Regions from separate parts of the Homo sapiens genome. Here all the other regions are linked to region 5. Evidence: promoter capture Hi-C in 16 types of primary human blood cells and fetal thymus (Javierre and others, 2016). All regions are on one chromosome and are shown on one strand. The core of a region is centred on a gene start or on the middle of the fragment in contact, and the rest is flanking DNA. Distances in the headings are between cores, read along the strand shown.

What was found. The method cuts DNA at HindIII sites, captures the fragments that hold promoters and counts their contacts. A CHiCAGO score of 5 or more calls a contact.
Region 1: a fragment that was not itself captured here is called in contact with the fragment with the promoter of HS2ST1 in region 5 in 1 of 17 cell types (non-activated CD4 T cells); the score reaches 6.5 in non-activated CD4 T cells.
Region 2: a contact is called between a fragment that was not itself captured here and the fragment with the promoter of HS2ST1 in region 5, in 7 of 17 cell types (total CD8 T cells, naive CD4 T cells, fetal thymus and 4 more). The highest score is 13.2, in total CD8 T cells.
Region 3: a contact is called between the fragment with the promoter of CDC7 here and the fragment with the promoter of HS2ST1 in region 5, in 1 of 17 cell types (activated CD4 T cells). The highest score is 5.5, in activated CD4 T cells.
Region 4: a contact is called between a fragment that was not itself captured here and the fragment with the promoter of HS2ST1 in region 5, in 1 of 17 cell types (total CD4 T cells). The highest score is 5.3, in total CD4 T cells.

The regions. Positions count from the first base shown.
Region 1 is chr1:91,029,133-91,031,832 of GRCh38, forward strand. No RefSeq gene overlaps it. Among named protein-coding and RNA genes, the nearest start is that of ZNF644, 8.4 kb to the left of the region's middle. The HindIII fragment of the contact is 3,917 bases long and covers 1-2,700 here.
Region 2 is chr1:89,996,095-89,998,794 of GRCh38, forward strand. It overlaps ZNF326 (zinc finger protein 326), which reads left to right. Exons shown (of 12, transcript NM_182976.4): 2 at 2,016-2,060. Among named protein-coding and RNA genes, the nearest start is that of ZNF326, 2.3 kb to the left of the region's middle. The HindIII fragment of the contact is 2,215 bases long and covers 317-2,531 here.
Region 3 is chr1:91,499,461-91,502,160 of GRCh38, forward strand. It overlaps CDC7 (cell division cycle 7), which reads left to right and starts at 1,391. Exons shown (of 12, transcript NM_003503.4): 1 at 1,391-1,488; 2 at 2,194-2,371. The coding sequence starts at 2,257. It overlaps LOC105378856 (a long non-coding RNA gene), which reads right to left and starts at 1,388. Exons shown (of 3, transcript XR_947599.4): 1 at 1-1,388. RefSeq lists an enhancer at 2,033-2,232. The HindIII fragment of the contact is 5,865 bases long and covers 1-2,689 here.
Region 4 is chr1:91,011,215-91,013,914 of GRCh38, forward strand. The region is part of intron 1 of ZNF644 (zinc finger protein 644); the gene reads right to left. Among named protein-coding and RNA genes, the nearest start is that of ZNF644, 9.5 kb to the right of the region's middle. The HindIII fragment of the contact is 3,689 bases long and covers 1-2,700 here.
Region 5 is chr1:86,913,185-86,915,884 of GRCh38, forward strand. HS2ST1 (heparan sulfate 2-O-sulfotransferase 1) reads left to right here and starts at 1,451. Exons shown (of 7, transcript NM_012262.4): 1 at 1,451-1,976. The coding sequence starts at 1,853. SELENOF (selenoprotein F) reads right to left here and starts at 942. Exons shown (of 5, transcript NM_004261.5): 1 at 844-942. The coding sequence starts at 927. RefSeq lists enhancers at 239-853, 702-751, 854-1,468, 862-1,021, 1,072-1,191. The HindIII fragment of the contact is 1,083 bases long and covers 1,070-2,152 here.

The sequences.
Region 1 (2,700 bases), core at 115-2,614, 4.1 Mb after region 5:
TCCCACTCCTTCACCTGGGCTAATTCCTACTCATTCTTCAAGTTTCAGTTAAATATCCCTTTGATTAAGTTCCTTAGTTTTGGATAGCTAATATCAACAATCCTTTGACCAATTTTATAGGTTACCCAAATGTAGGCCAATTTGTGATTATCTATTTATATATACATATATGTAGATTATATATGTAAATATAATTTATATTTAAATGCATATATTTGTATATACATATATATAATCTACATGTATGCATATATAGATAATCACAATATATGCATATATAAATGCAAATATATATACATATAAGACCTGTGTGTATATAATATACATATAAATTATGTATATACAAATATTTATGTATGTATATTTATATATAAATATAATATACATAAGTATGTGTACATATATTTACATATATGCTTTCCTTCTTGGCATATGCCTGCCTATACATTCATTTTTTTATTTTTTATTTTTTTGAGAAGGAGTCTTACTCTGTAGCCCAGGCTGGAGTACAATGGTGCAATCTCACTGCAACCTCCACTTCTTGGGTTCAAGCAATTCTCCTGCCTCAGCCTCGCGAGTAGCTGGGATTACAGGTGAACACCACCATGCCTGGCTAATTTTTGTATTTTTGGTAGAGACGGGGTTTCACCATGTTGGCCAAGCTGGTCTCAAACTCCTGACCTCAAGTGATCCACCTGCCTCGGCCTCCCAAAGTGCTGGGATTACAGGCGTGAGCCACCACGCCCGGCCCCACCTGCATTTTAAGTTAACCATTGTGGGCCTGCCTTGATACTTCAGCAGTCCCAATTAATGTAATTGGCTGATTGGATTCACCTGGGCTTCTGTCAGAGCCACTTTCCGTCACCCTCTTACCTCATACTCAAAAACCACTCAGTGCTTCTTTTGTTATACTTATCTCATGTGTACATAAACCCCACTATAACTGAACAAATAGAATCTAAAAATTCAGTTTCACAAATTACAAGGTCATATTATTATGAGATTAATGAAATGATTGGAGTGATCCCACATAGTTTGCTGGAGAGCACCAAGTGTCTGGCTGTGTGACCAAAATCCATTCTGGTCTCAGCTAGAGTTCGGAGCCGTCTGCTGGTACTTGACTTCTCCAGCTTAAATAAATATACAGGGGATAACTCTAGGCTCTATGACTAGCTGGGAATTACAGAATCGTAGCACTGATTCCAGGAATCTCTGGGCTTCTTGACAGCCATTTGATCTGTCTAATACAGGCAGATTGGGCTGGGAGAATACTGGGAATGCAGAGTCCCACTTCCTGGGTGTGCAGAGGTCCACTTCACCTTGTCTTCCCCTCCAAGATAGGAACTTTAACCCACCACATTGAAAACGGGAACTGGGGAGAGGGCAGGATTAATAGCCAGATGTATTAAAATTGGTTTTGCATTGTCAGGGAACATAATTTCACCATGTTATTTCTACATTATTGTACATGTGGATTTTACTATAATTACTTGTTTAATGACTACCTCCTCCTCTAGACTCTATGCTACGTGAAGATAAGGGCCCTATTAATCTTGTTTCTTACAGTGCAGGGCATTTCTTAGCTCACATTAGTTGCTTAATAAAAATTTGTTAAATTAAATCGATGTCATATCTAAGAGAAGACATAAAATACTTTTTTTTTCCTTTTTTTTTTTTTAAAGATAGCATCTCTCTCTGTTACCCAGGCTGGAGTGCAGTGGCATGATCATGGCTCACTGCAGCTTCGACCTCCCAGGTTCAATCAATCCTCATGACAGCCTCCTGAGTCGCTGGGACTATAGGCACACGCCACCACGCCCAGCTAATTTTTAAATTTTTCTGTAGAGTTGGGGTTTTGCCATGTTGCCCAGGCTGGTCTTGAACTCCTGGGCTACCCACCTAGACCTCCCAAAGTGCTGGGATTACAGGCATGAGCCACTGAGACTAGTGAAGACCTAAAAGACTTTTAAAATCTAGTTGGGGGGAAAGAGTAGGGGTAAAGATATTCTTCGCAGAGGGAAACATGAAAAAAGTATAAGAAGTACAAGAGAGTATGCCATGTTTAGGGAATGGTAAGTAATTCACAAAACCAGAGTATACATGCAAGAAGTGGCAAGAGTAAGTGTGGTAAGAAATGAAACTGGAAAGAGAAGCAGAAGTTGGATTGCTAAGGACAAGGAACTTGGACTTGATCCTAAGGGCAATGGGAAACCATTGAGGGATCTTAAAAGGAAATTAAATGGTAAAATTTGCACTTTAGAAATATATACAATGTATTGAAGAGGTAAAACTGGATGCAGAGAGAAGAGTAGGTTATTTATGCAGCTTGTACCTGCATAATCATAGCACATGTTACAGGAAGCTGCCCTGCCCTCAGCTTGCATGGAGAGGTAGTGCTCAGCAGCCCTGCTTTGCACTCTGCAAAACTGCTCTCCCCAACACTTAGCTACATCTGACTGGACACGGGATGGGCACCTGATCCGAAGGAAACTAATCCATAGGCTGGCAAGTGGTCTATGACATGGCCAGCATGGAAAATAGTAATCAAGATAGTGTGGTATTAACATTAAGATAGGCAAATAGATCAATAAAAGAAAATAGAGGGTCCAGAAATAGACCCACAATTACATGGTCAATTAAATTTCAGCAAAGGTGCAAAGGCAATTCAATAGAGAAGGATAGTCTTTTCAACAAATGATA
Region 2 (2,700 bases), core at 174-2,673, 3.1 Mb after region 5:
TTTAAACCACTTTTACAGGGTCACAAAGTAATATTAATTTGGTCTTCACTTTTGTTTTCAAACCTTGCTTGGAATTGGTGTCAAGATAAAGTGGTATGTAGTGACAACATTAGGGAGACATGGGAAAGGACTTATGTGATTAAACTGGATTTAATCCTGAGTAACCAGGCATGCTTAAGTAAAACCAGTTCACTAAGTAGGCTGTAAACTTTTAACCCCACCAAAAAAATGATCTTTAAATGAGGTGTGATCTCAGCATATGTCTTACTCGATGAGCTTTTGATTTTTCATAACATTTCATGCAACAAAGAATTAAAGCTTTCATATCTAGGTACAGATTTGTGAAAGGGGACTGGAATAGCCCTCTTGTAGATACTTTTCAGTTACTTTGAAATAGTAAGTTCAGCTCTTAAGAGTAGCACACTCTCGTGGTTTTGTTTGTTTTGGTTGGACTTTAACTCATTTTGATGTAGATACCTTTAAACTATGAATATTTGGGCTGGGCACGATGGCTCACACCTGTAATCTCAGCACTTTGGGAGGCGGAGGCAGAAGAATCCCTTGAACCCGGGAGGCGAAGGTTGCAGTGAGCCGAGATCGTGCCATTGCACTCTAGCCTGGGCAACAAGAGCCAAACTTCGTCTGAAAAAAAAAAAACAAAAAACCAACAACAAAACAAAAAACTATGAATATTTGAAGTGGCCAGAGTTGGGAGTGAAAATAAAAAATATATTATTGTATTTTCATGCTGTAGTTTGATGATAATGCCAACACCCAAGGTATAGCAGAGGCTAACAAAGTGGAGGTGGGGCAGTAGAAACAGTTCTTTCCACTCCCCACCCAAGGCAATAAGGGAATCCATTTCTATGGAGAATTGAAAAACAATAATAAAATGTAGTATGTCTGCTTTCTGTTATTGCCATATGCCAGAATTCTAAACAGTGTCAGTGATAGAAATTCTAAACAATATTAGTGATGAAATACGCCCTGTCTCACTGCCCAAATATACCACTGCTGTATTTGGAAGATGGAGTTTGACTAACACCATATATGAATCTATTCCTGTATAGTGTAGCAGGATTCTGTTGTATCCAGATGACCACTATATTAAATTCTGTTCTTTCAGTATATATTTGTAAAATTAACTAAAGAATTTAACAGTTGTTAAATTAGTTTTGATGAGGAAATTGGCAATATGGTTTTCAGTGATGACACATTCTGCTTGAATATAGAACACAGTCATATATGTATATGCATATGCATGTCTCAGATAAGATCTTGAAATCTTTTTTTTTTTGAGACAGAGTCTCGTTCTGTCGCCCAGGCTGGAGTGCAGTGGTGCAGTCTTGGCTCACTGCAGCCTCTGCCTCCTGGATTCAAGTGATTCTTCTGCCTCAGCCTCCCTAGTAGCTGGGACTACAGGCACGCACCACCAGGCCCGGCTAATTTTTATATTTCCAGTAGAGAAAGGGTTTCACCATATTGGACGGGCTGGTCTCGAACTCCTGACCTCGTGACCCGCCCACCTCACCTTCCCAAGTGCTGGGATTACAGGCGTGAGCCACCGTGCCCGGCCAAGATCTTGAAATCTTTAAAGAGCAAATTAAATGGTAAAAGAAATTAACTTAGCAAAAATTTCATGTTACGTACAATTCTCAGATGTCTTTGCTTTTGCATTATTTGATACATAATTTAATCTATCTGCCTTTGTGTTACTTGGTACAAATCAGTGCTGAATCCCCTCTTTTGGCTGTTATTATGTATCAGGTGTTGTAAACTAATGTTTACCATAATTTGGATAATAAACCTACCATTTGGGGAGATAGTGAAGAAAAAAGAGATACATTTTCTGGAATGGAGTATTGGTAATTATTTGTTTTAACTATTCTCAGTTTTGCAGATAATTGGGTTAATGTCATTTTAAAAATTGTGCTTGTTTTTTACTGGATCGGCATATAATTTTGAATTATTGCTAATATCACACTAATTCCTTTTTGTTAAATGTGTCTTCATAGATTACACACACTCCGCCTGCAGGAATACTTATCAGGGCTTTAATGGTAAGTATCCTCTTTCAGCTTTTCTCTTCATGCGCATAAAAATATAGTATCAATGTAAAAGGCCAGTTCTACCTATTTCAGTCCTTGTTTTGGTTCTTGATATATCATTTATGTGTTAATATTGTCTTACTATATATAGTATTTGAATTGGGGAATGTGCTATCAGAAAATGTTAGGGGTTATTCACATTAGTTTGATTTTTTTTTTGGTCCATTTTGTTTGAATTATGATTATTTTAATGTGTTCCAAAGGGCCTAACTACATTCTGAGTGATGAATCACAAGACACTGGCTGAGTTATTTTGGTTGAATTAGAGGCTTTGGTATTGAGTAATGTAGACTAAGTGGATTATTGGCTTGGTTCTATATAGCTTGTATTGTAATGCATTTTGACCTTGTTTTTGAGGTCATTTTCTTCAGTGTGTCCAAATGTGTTAGTATATAAAGAGCTGTCTAGAGGAGCACATGAAGAAGCTTGATTGTTTATTGACATGAGCATGACATTAGACTTGTGACTATAGAACTAGATAGAATCATGAGAGGTATGTAGAATACAATTGGATGTCATTTTGATAGTTATTAGAGTTAGGGCCCTGCCACACAAGATAATAATACAAAAAAAGAACACAGAACAATTAATG
Region 3 (2,700 bases), core at 141-2,640, 4.6 Mb after region 5:
AATTGTTTATGTTCAACAGAAGAATACCAATGCTTGGCTGTGATTGCCAGGCCAGCTCAAAGCAACAGCAAACCAAGCTGGTAGTACCAGGCCATCTCCTGGATGTCAAGGTCTGCTTTTCTCTTTCTCGGTATCCACACTAGAATCCTTGATTTACTCTCTTCCACCTCACTCAATCAAAAACCATTACCTCACAGACTTCCCTTCTATGTGGCACTACCACCCACACATATGCTAGCCCAAAACCTAAGATTCACTGTTGATGATGCCCTTTTCTTCATTTTCCATAGCCAATCACCAAATCCCATTGTCTTCTTTCTTTTATTTCTTCCGCCATTGTTCTGGTCCAAACTACCATTATGTTTCTCCTAAACATAAAGTGCATCCTATTTCCTCTGCTTCCACACTTGCCCCTCTACAATCCATTCTCTTCATAACAGATAGATCATATTACTCCCTTGCTTTAAAACTTTCAAATAGCTTCCAATTGTACTCAGAACAAACACTAAACTTCTTACCCTGGCTTTCAAGGACCCTGGTCTGGCTTCTGCCTAACTCTCCACCTTCATCTATCTGGGACTATCTTGCGGCTCACTCACTATGCTTCCCCCACACTGGCCTTTCCTGCCCTGCCCCTGCAACATACCAAGTTCCTCTTTCTCTCTGCATTTGCCCTATCCTTTCTTTGCCAGGACAACAGTCTCCCTACCAGCTCTTTCTCATCCAGGTCTCTTTGAGAGGGCTTCCCTGACCATCTAGATGCCACCTTCCTGGTCAGTATTTCCCTCAAGTAGTAATCAATGCCGGAAAGAATACTGTTCATTTATTCATCCGTTATTGTCATCGCTTCATTGGAATTTAGCTTCCTACAGGGATGGTGTTTATCTTGCTCACTATGATTCCAGCCCCTAGAAAAACCCACCTACCTCATAGCCAAGGGCTCAGTAAATAGTATACACTGCCTTCCTGCCACTGTGCTAATTTCTACTAACACAGCCACAAACAATCAGCAATTACATTTTCTGCTTGTTTTTAACGGGGAAGTAGGGCACTCAACGAAAAGGAAATAAAAGCAGAGTCAAGAAAGTGCCTTTTATCCATGGAGTGCCCAATGTGTTGTGCGGCCGGCCACGTATATAGGGATGTGTCAGCACCTGAGATTTTTCCTTCTCTGAGCTAGCTTCTTTCCTGGAAATCATGCTGGGCCCTTAGCCTTATGGTTCACCCTGTTTTTTAAGATCATCCACGGGCTTCATTCCCGTAACCGCTCTTCTAGCTGGCCAAGGCGGCGGGAAGAAACCCCACCCTCTTGCGCAAACGCCCAGTAGCGGAATCCGCGGGGTCGAGGGCTTTAGTGTGCGCATGTGCAACCAGAGCGGCGGCGGGAAGTGTTGCGCAGGCGCATCCGATCGACTCGGTAGGTGGGGATCTCTTGGAGACGGCGACCCAGGCATCTGGGGAGCCACAGAAGTCGTACTCCCTTAAACCGTGAGTTTCCGACGGTTTGTTCCATGGCGCGGGATTGTGAGGGATTAGGAACGAATTCTGGATCGTGACTTCGGTTTTCTCGCCGTGCAGTTCCTTTTCCCGCCCCCCTTCGGATCCCTCCGACCTGCGGCGGGAAAGTCGCGCGCCTGCGCACTAAGCATCTGGTTCGGTCTCTGGCCCGAGGGAAGCCGGTCCTTCCCGGCTGAGCTCGCGGCCAGCGCTGGCCGGCGGATTCCCATTCATTCACCCTTCTCCTCCTCCGCCCAGTACTCGTGGCCAGGGTCGTATCAGTTCTCCGTCAACTTGCTTGGGGCCTTGGACGAGCCTCCTGGCGCTTCCTGTCAGTGGCGAAAAGGTTTTCTCCCTCAGTTCTTTTCCTGACTTCAAACCGCCCCCGGCGCTCGGCCCCTCCCCCACGCGGTCCCGCTGGCTGTGCCGGACTGGCAGCCTCGCCGTTTCCCACTGCGCCTGCTGCTGCGCGGGTGCCCAAGCCGGGAAATTCTCCCTGCAGCCCCCTGCCGGTGTTTCTGATAGGTGAAAATAAAGCACATGGAATTCCTTAGACAAGGCCACAGTATGCCCTACTGTGGAGGTTTGGACACATCGTGCGTTTGAAAATGTTTGCCCCTTTGGGGGGCAGTAGCATGTTTTTAGTGCGTGGTTTAGCGAGTGATCTAAATTTCTCTAGTGTTCTAATTTTCACAGCTGCTTTGCTCCCCCTGTGGATGTAACCCCTTAGCTGGCATTTTGCATCTCAATTGGCTTGTGATGGAGGCGTCTTTGGGGATTCAGATGGATGAGCCAATGGCTTTTTCTCCCCAGCGTGACCGGTTTCAGGCTGAAGGCTCTTTAAAAAAAAACGAGCAGAATTTTAAACTTGCAGGTACGTGTTTAAATCCAAAGATGTACAGTTATAAAGATTTTTCAGGCAACAATTCTGTGTTTTCAATTCCTCTCAAAAAATAAGATTGAATCTTATAAAGTGAATTGTATGTTTCTATAGGACAGTGTTAAAACAGAGCTTCGTATGATCTAAATGTAGGACTGAATTGCGATTTGGAAGACTGTAATACAACCTGTTTTACGGTTGAAGTTGCTATGGTCTCAGTATTGGTAATTAAGAATGCAGAAATTTGATGATGCCCAAATTAAATTTCTCTTTTGTATCTGTGTTCTTATCTCTACTCACCACATTGCCTTAAGCTTAAATGT
Region 4 (2,700 bases), core at 8-2,507, 4.1 Mb after region 5:
CAAATACTGAAATCCCTGGAGCAAGAGTATATTAAATGAACTTATTACAAATTCCAAAAGACAAAACTTCTTTATATAGAGTAAATATTTTCATTTATAAACTCGAGCATTCACAATCCAAATGTTAATGAGAAAGTCTTTTCATACCCATTTCTGCGCAATTTACATATTCATTCTTCAAAACCAGATATACTAGAATGTGAAGATATATTTTTTATTATATACGTTTAACAACATTATAATACCCATTTCAGAAAAAATTCTTTATCTGCAAAGCACCAATTTAATACTGCTATACTACAATAAGGTTTCTACTGCTCAGTATTTACGAAAAATAATGCTACAACTATTAATTCCATTTGGGGGAAAAAAACTGATTCAAGCACTAAAAGTAAAAATCATGATCAACAATTCTATTTCAGTTTTCCATTTATAAAGTCTCCTACATGGGCTTTAACCATTCACACTTGTAAGCAACTGTCCATAAGGTAACATTCTAGTTATATTCTACTTTTCTGTTGAACAGGTAGATGCCTACCTATAAAAAAAAAGTACACCTATTTATTCCTACCTCTAAAATTACAATCAGAAATACCCAAATACCTTAATAAGCAACCTAAAATGCCTAATAGCTAACTGACATAATGCCTGGAAGCTACCATCAAAGAGGCTCCAAAAACCATCTATATAAGGAGGCAATCCACAACTTCCTCCACCTACTTCCTGGCTATATGCCTAGAGAATACTGTAATGACAGCAAGCCAGGCAACTATGTTATCGGTGGAGGCAAATTCAAATCTCTGCATTCTAAACAAAATATCAAGTCATAAAACTAACCTCTAAAGGATTACTATTAATGAACACTAAGAAGCACCTCTCTGATTTTGTCACTGGGGGGAAAAAAGGGCCATAGTACCAAATATCACCTGATTTACCTCCCAATTCATAACAATGCCAAACAAGGACAGAAGAAAAGAGAGATGGATTCAAGCATCAATTCTCACTACCCTTGGGAGGGAGGACAAATATGCCATAAGAAGTTTAGAAACAAAAACTCCAGCCCGGGCAACATGGTAAAACCCTATCTCTACTACCGAAAGAAAAAAAAAAAAAATCAGCCAGGCATGATGGCATGCACCTGTAGTTCCAGGTACTCAGGAAGCTGAAGGAGGAGGATCGCTTGAGCCTGGGAGGTGAAGGCTGCAGTGAGCTGAGATTGCGCCAATGCACTCCAGCTAGGGTGACAGACTGAGACCCTGTCTCAAAAGAAAAAAAAAGGAAGGAAAAGAAAAAGAAACAAGCAAAAACTAATTTATGGTGATAGAGGTTAGAGGTTAAAATAGTGGTTACTTCTGTAGGGAGAAATTAATAGGAGGGAGCACAAGGCACCTTTAATCAGTGAAGAAAAATATTCTACATCTCTATCTGGGTATTTCATTTAAAATAGGCTCTAATCACGGAAAATGCTTGCATTCCACAATTCTCATGTCTGTGCTTTTTTTACATCCTCTTCTCCCCAGGTGTAACCCAGTACCTCCCACTACCTGGGAGTTACCTAGGTATACTTATATGTATAAATTCACTGAGTTGTACTTAAGATTTGTGCACTTCACTGTATGTTATACCTAAAAAAAATACTTAAAAACAAGTAACCAATTAATAGCTAAATCTAAAAACCTTTTCTCAATTCTCATCCTTCTTTATCAATCTCCATCATATTGTTAATCACAGAACATCAATATTCCCTAAATGAAACACTTTCCCTTTTGAAGATCGACTAGGCTTTGTTAGGATGTTTTTTCCAGCATTTTCTGTAGTGTCATATTAATTCTCTCTAAATATTAATTCAATATTTATCTTTTTTCTTTTGTTTTTTGGAGACTGAGTCTCACTCTGTCGCCCAGGTGGGGATGCAGTGGCATGATCTTGGCTTACTGCAACCTCCGCCTCTCATGTTTAAGCAATTCTCCCGCCTCAGCCTCCCAAGTAGGTGGCATTATAGGTGCACACCACCATGCCCAGCTAATTTTTGTATTTTCAGTAGAGACGGGATATTTCATCATATTGGCCAAGCTGGTCTCAAACTCCTGACCTCAGGCGATCTGCCGACCTCAGCCTCCCATAGTGCTGGGACTACAGGCATGAGCCAATGCACCCAGTTAATTCAGTATTTATCAAGTGCTCATGTATGAGACACGAATTAGGCACCCTCCAATATATATTTCCAATCTCTCTCTCACACACACACACACACACACACACACACACATACACACACACACACACATATACACACCCAAACCAAATTCCCTAAACTGGATTCAAGCCACTCTATTACCTGGTATCAAACTGTATTTGCTGTTTTAATTCCTATCACTTCTTTATGGGAATATTCTTCTCAAGCATTTTCTGTTCTCAGCTATCCTTTACGGTTCAGTTCAATTTCTATGTTATTCTTTCCCTATACCCCATAGGACTTACTATCTGTAATTGCACTGTCCAATACAGTAACTTCATGTGGCTACTGAATACCTGAACTCTGGCTAGTCTGAATTGAGATGTGCTTTAAGTATGTAATACTAACAGATTTTGAAGACTTAACATGGTTAAAAAAAGAAAAAATGTAAAATAGTTCAATCATGTTTATATGATGAAATAATAGTATTTAGATACTGGGTTAAATAAAAATCCATTAATAAA
Region 5 (2,700 bases), core at 201-2,700:
TGGATAAGTAAATTAAACCAGGTCTCCTTATTAGAGACTACCCGAAGAATTAAGCTAGGATAAAAAAACGTAAAAGCTTTCAGCACTGTGCCTAAAATTTTACTATTCACACAGCAGAACATGGATATGAGAAGAAATAAGTTAAAAGTACACTTTTCCCATTCAAAGGTCACCCATCTATTCTGCCAATAGAGAAAAATGAAATAAAAAACGCTGCCTTAAAGAAGACAACGAACATCATTTAAAAAACTAACTTCAAAAATGAATTATACTTTGGTATAGATAACTCCTTTTACTCCAACAACATTGTTTAAAAGCACAAATCGCACTCAAGCGCAGCCAGCCGTATATGAATAGCAGAGGAGAACGGAAGTTAAGAGACTAACAGAAGTAGTGAAAATGAGAGAGCACGCGCGCGAGAGAGGTAAACACAAACTGTTCGCCTGGACCAACGACTTGAAGACTTGCCTCTAAGAGTTGGAAGTCTCGTCATGAGTCTCTTGCATTTCTGTCCATTTAAAAACAACCTCCACTTCTTGCCAAGCTTTATTATTCCCCCCTCCCACCTGGTGTGGTTTACAGATTGTTTTTAGCAAGAGCCGTATAAGAGAAGCTACGTACCCAAGACAATCTGAAATCAAGAGAAAACTGCTGCTAGAAACCCAAGGCGGGGAAGGAGAAGGATCAACCGAGAAATTAAGCCACGTTGCATTCTGGCCGCAGCAGTCATTAAGGAAGCGCAGTCCTCCCCACCCTTTTCAACCAGGACCGAATGTTGCGTCTTTCTCAGCTGCAATCACTCCTACTCTCCCTGTGGCAGCTGCGAAGGTGATCTACACTCACCGCTTGAAGCACAGTCGCCAACAACAACCGTAGCCCAAACGCCGGCACCAGACACCCACTCGGCCCAGCCGCCATCGCTACCATTTTCCGCAGGTTTCTGGCTGCCTAGAAGGACCCCTAAGCTAGGGGCGTCCACTCCAGAGCCTGATCCAAAACAGAACGCTAACGGCCGTTGCCCTTACATCTCTCATTTGGAAGTGACAGGTATTAAATAACGGCATATGAAAGCTTAAAAGTCATCAAATACAATCACTGGGTGCTTTCGATTACCCAAATCAGGCACTTGCCTAAACTCCCCACTTCTTTACTTCTGCGGTCTCCTTTCTTTTATTCACGACACTTCGTCAAGCAGCCAAGAAGCCACGCCTTCGCCAGTTTTAGCCCCGCCTTCTTCTCCAAGTTTACCCAATTGAATGTCGTCTTGATTGAGCTCTGTGGCAGAGGAAACCAACCGTAAACCGAACCAAGAGCGAAGCGCAGGGGCTCTTCCGTCCAATAAGCGGACCCGAACGGGGGGAGGGGCGGGGCTTCTGGTTGCCGAGCAGCGTACGCGGATGCGTGCGCGTGGTGGCGGAGGGGGATGGGCGGGGGCGGGGATGAGGGCGGCGCAGCCGCAGCGCCGGTGGAGGGGCGCGCGGCCGCGAGCAAAGGAGGGAGGGAAGGAAGGAAGAGAGGGAGGCGGGCAAGCAGGCGGGCGCGGGGGTCGGGGACTGAGGCAGTAGAGGGAGGCGAGAGCCCGGCAGCCGCTTCGCGCTGTTTGCTGCGCGGGCTTTTGGAGGGGGCGGCCGTTTAGTCGGCTGAGGAGAAGCGGACACCAGCGGCGTTGGTGATAGCGCCTGGGGGAGGGGGACTGGAGAGGCGAGAAGGGGGGTCGCTGCGGTGGTTCTCTCGCTGTCGCTCTCTCTTTGCCTCGCTCCCGGCTCGGCGGGCTCCTCCCGGCGTCTCTCTCGCCTCCGGGGTCCCGCTCCCCGCCCCCCGCGGTATGTCTTGATCCCGAGCAGCGGGTTTCATGGGGCTCCTCAGGATTATGATGCCGCCCAAGTTGCAGCTGCTGGCGGTGGTGGCCTTCGCGGTGGCGATGCTCTTCTTGGAAAACCAGATCCAGAAACTGGAGGAGTCCCGCTCGAAGCTAGGTGAGGAACTGAACTGCCCCGGGCTGAGTGCTGTGGAAGGGGCCGAGGAGGCGCTGCCGCCGGAGCAAGTGGGCGTTCATCTAACCTGGGGTCTGGCTCGGGGGCTGAAAGCGGTTTCAAAGAGAACCGGGAACAAGGGGCAGCGAGAGCACGAGCTCCAAGAATGGGTTGAATTAAGCTTGAGCGGCGTGCTGGGCTCGCGAGGTCACGGGGCAGAGGTTGCAAGGTTGGGCTTCCCTAGCCAAAGGGTAGCCCCGAAGTAGGCATTCCGCGGAGAGAGAGCGAGAGAGAAGACCGAACTCAGTGGGGAGCGTGTGTTGCTGGTCTCCGGAGACAGAAGCGCTTAGCATCGCGTGTTCTCTTGGAAGTCGTACAGGAAGCCCTGGCAATGTCAGATGAGGGGTATTCTAATTTGAGCTATGGGCATCTGGATACGAATTCTTTTGGGGGCTCATGAAGGGATAGGTGCGCAGAAATGGGAGGAGATGCTGGGATGACGGAGAGCAACATGTGAACACTGTAGCGAGTTGCACTCTTGTGCTCCGGGCAGCAAAGGACCTTGTAATTGCCAGCTGAGGGAGGCTGGCCGGGTAGTGCGGGAACGCGAGTGCAAAGCTTCATCGGAGTACGGAAATGAGGGTCCGGAGATTTAAATTCTTCTTTAGTGGCGCTAAACTGATGAATTGGGGCTTGAGAATAGGGATGCCTATGTATGTTGCTTCAC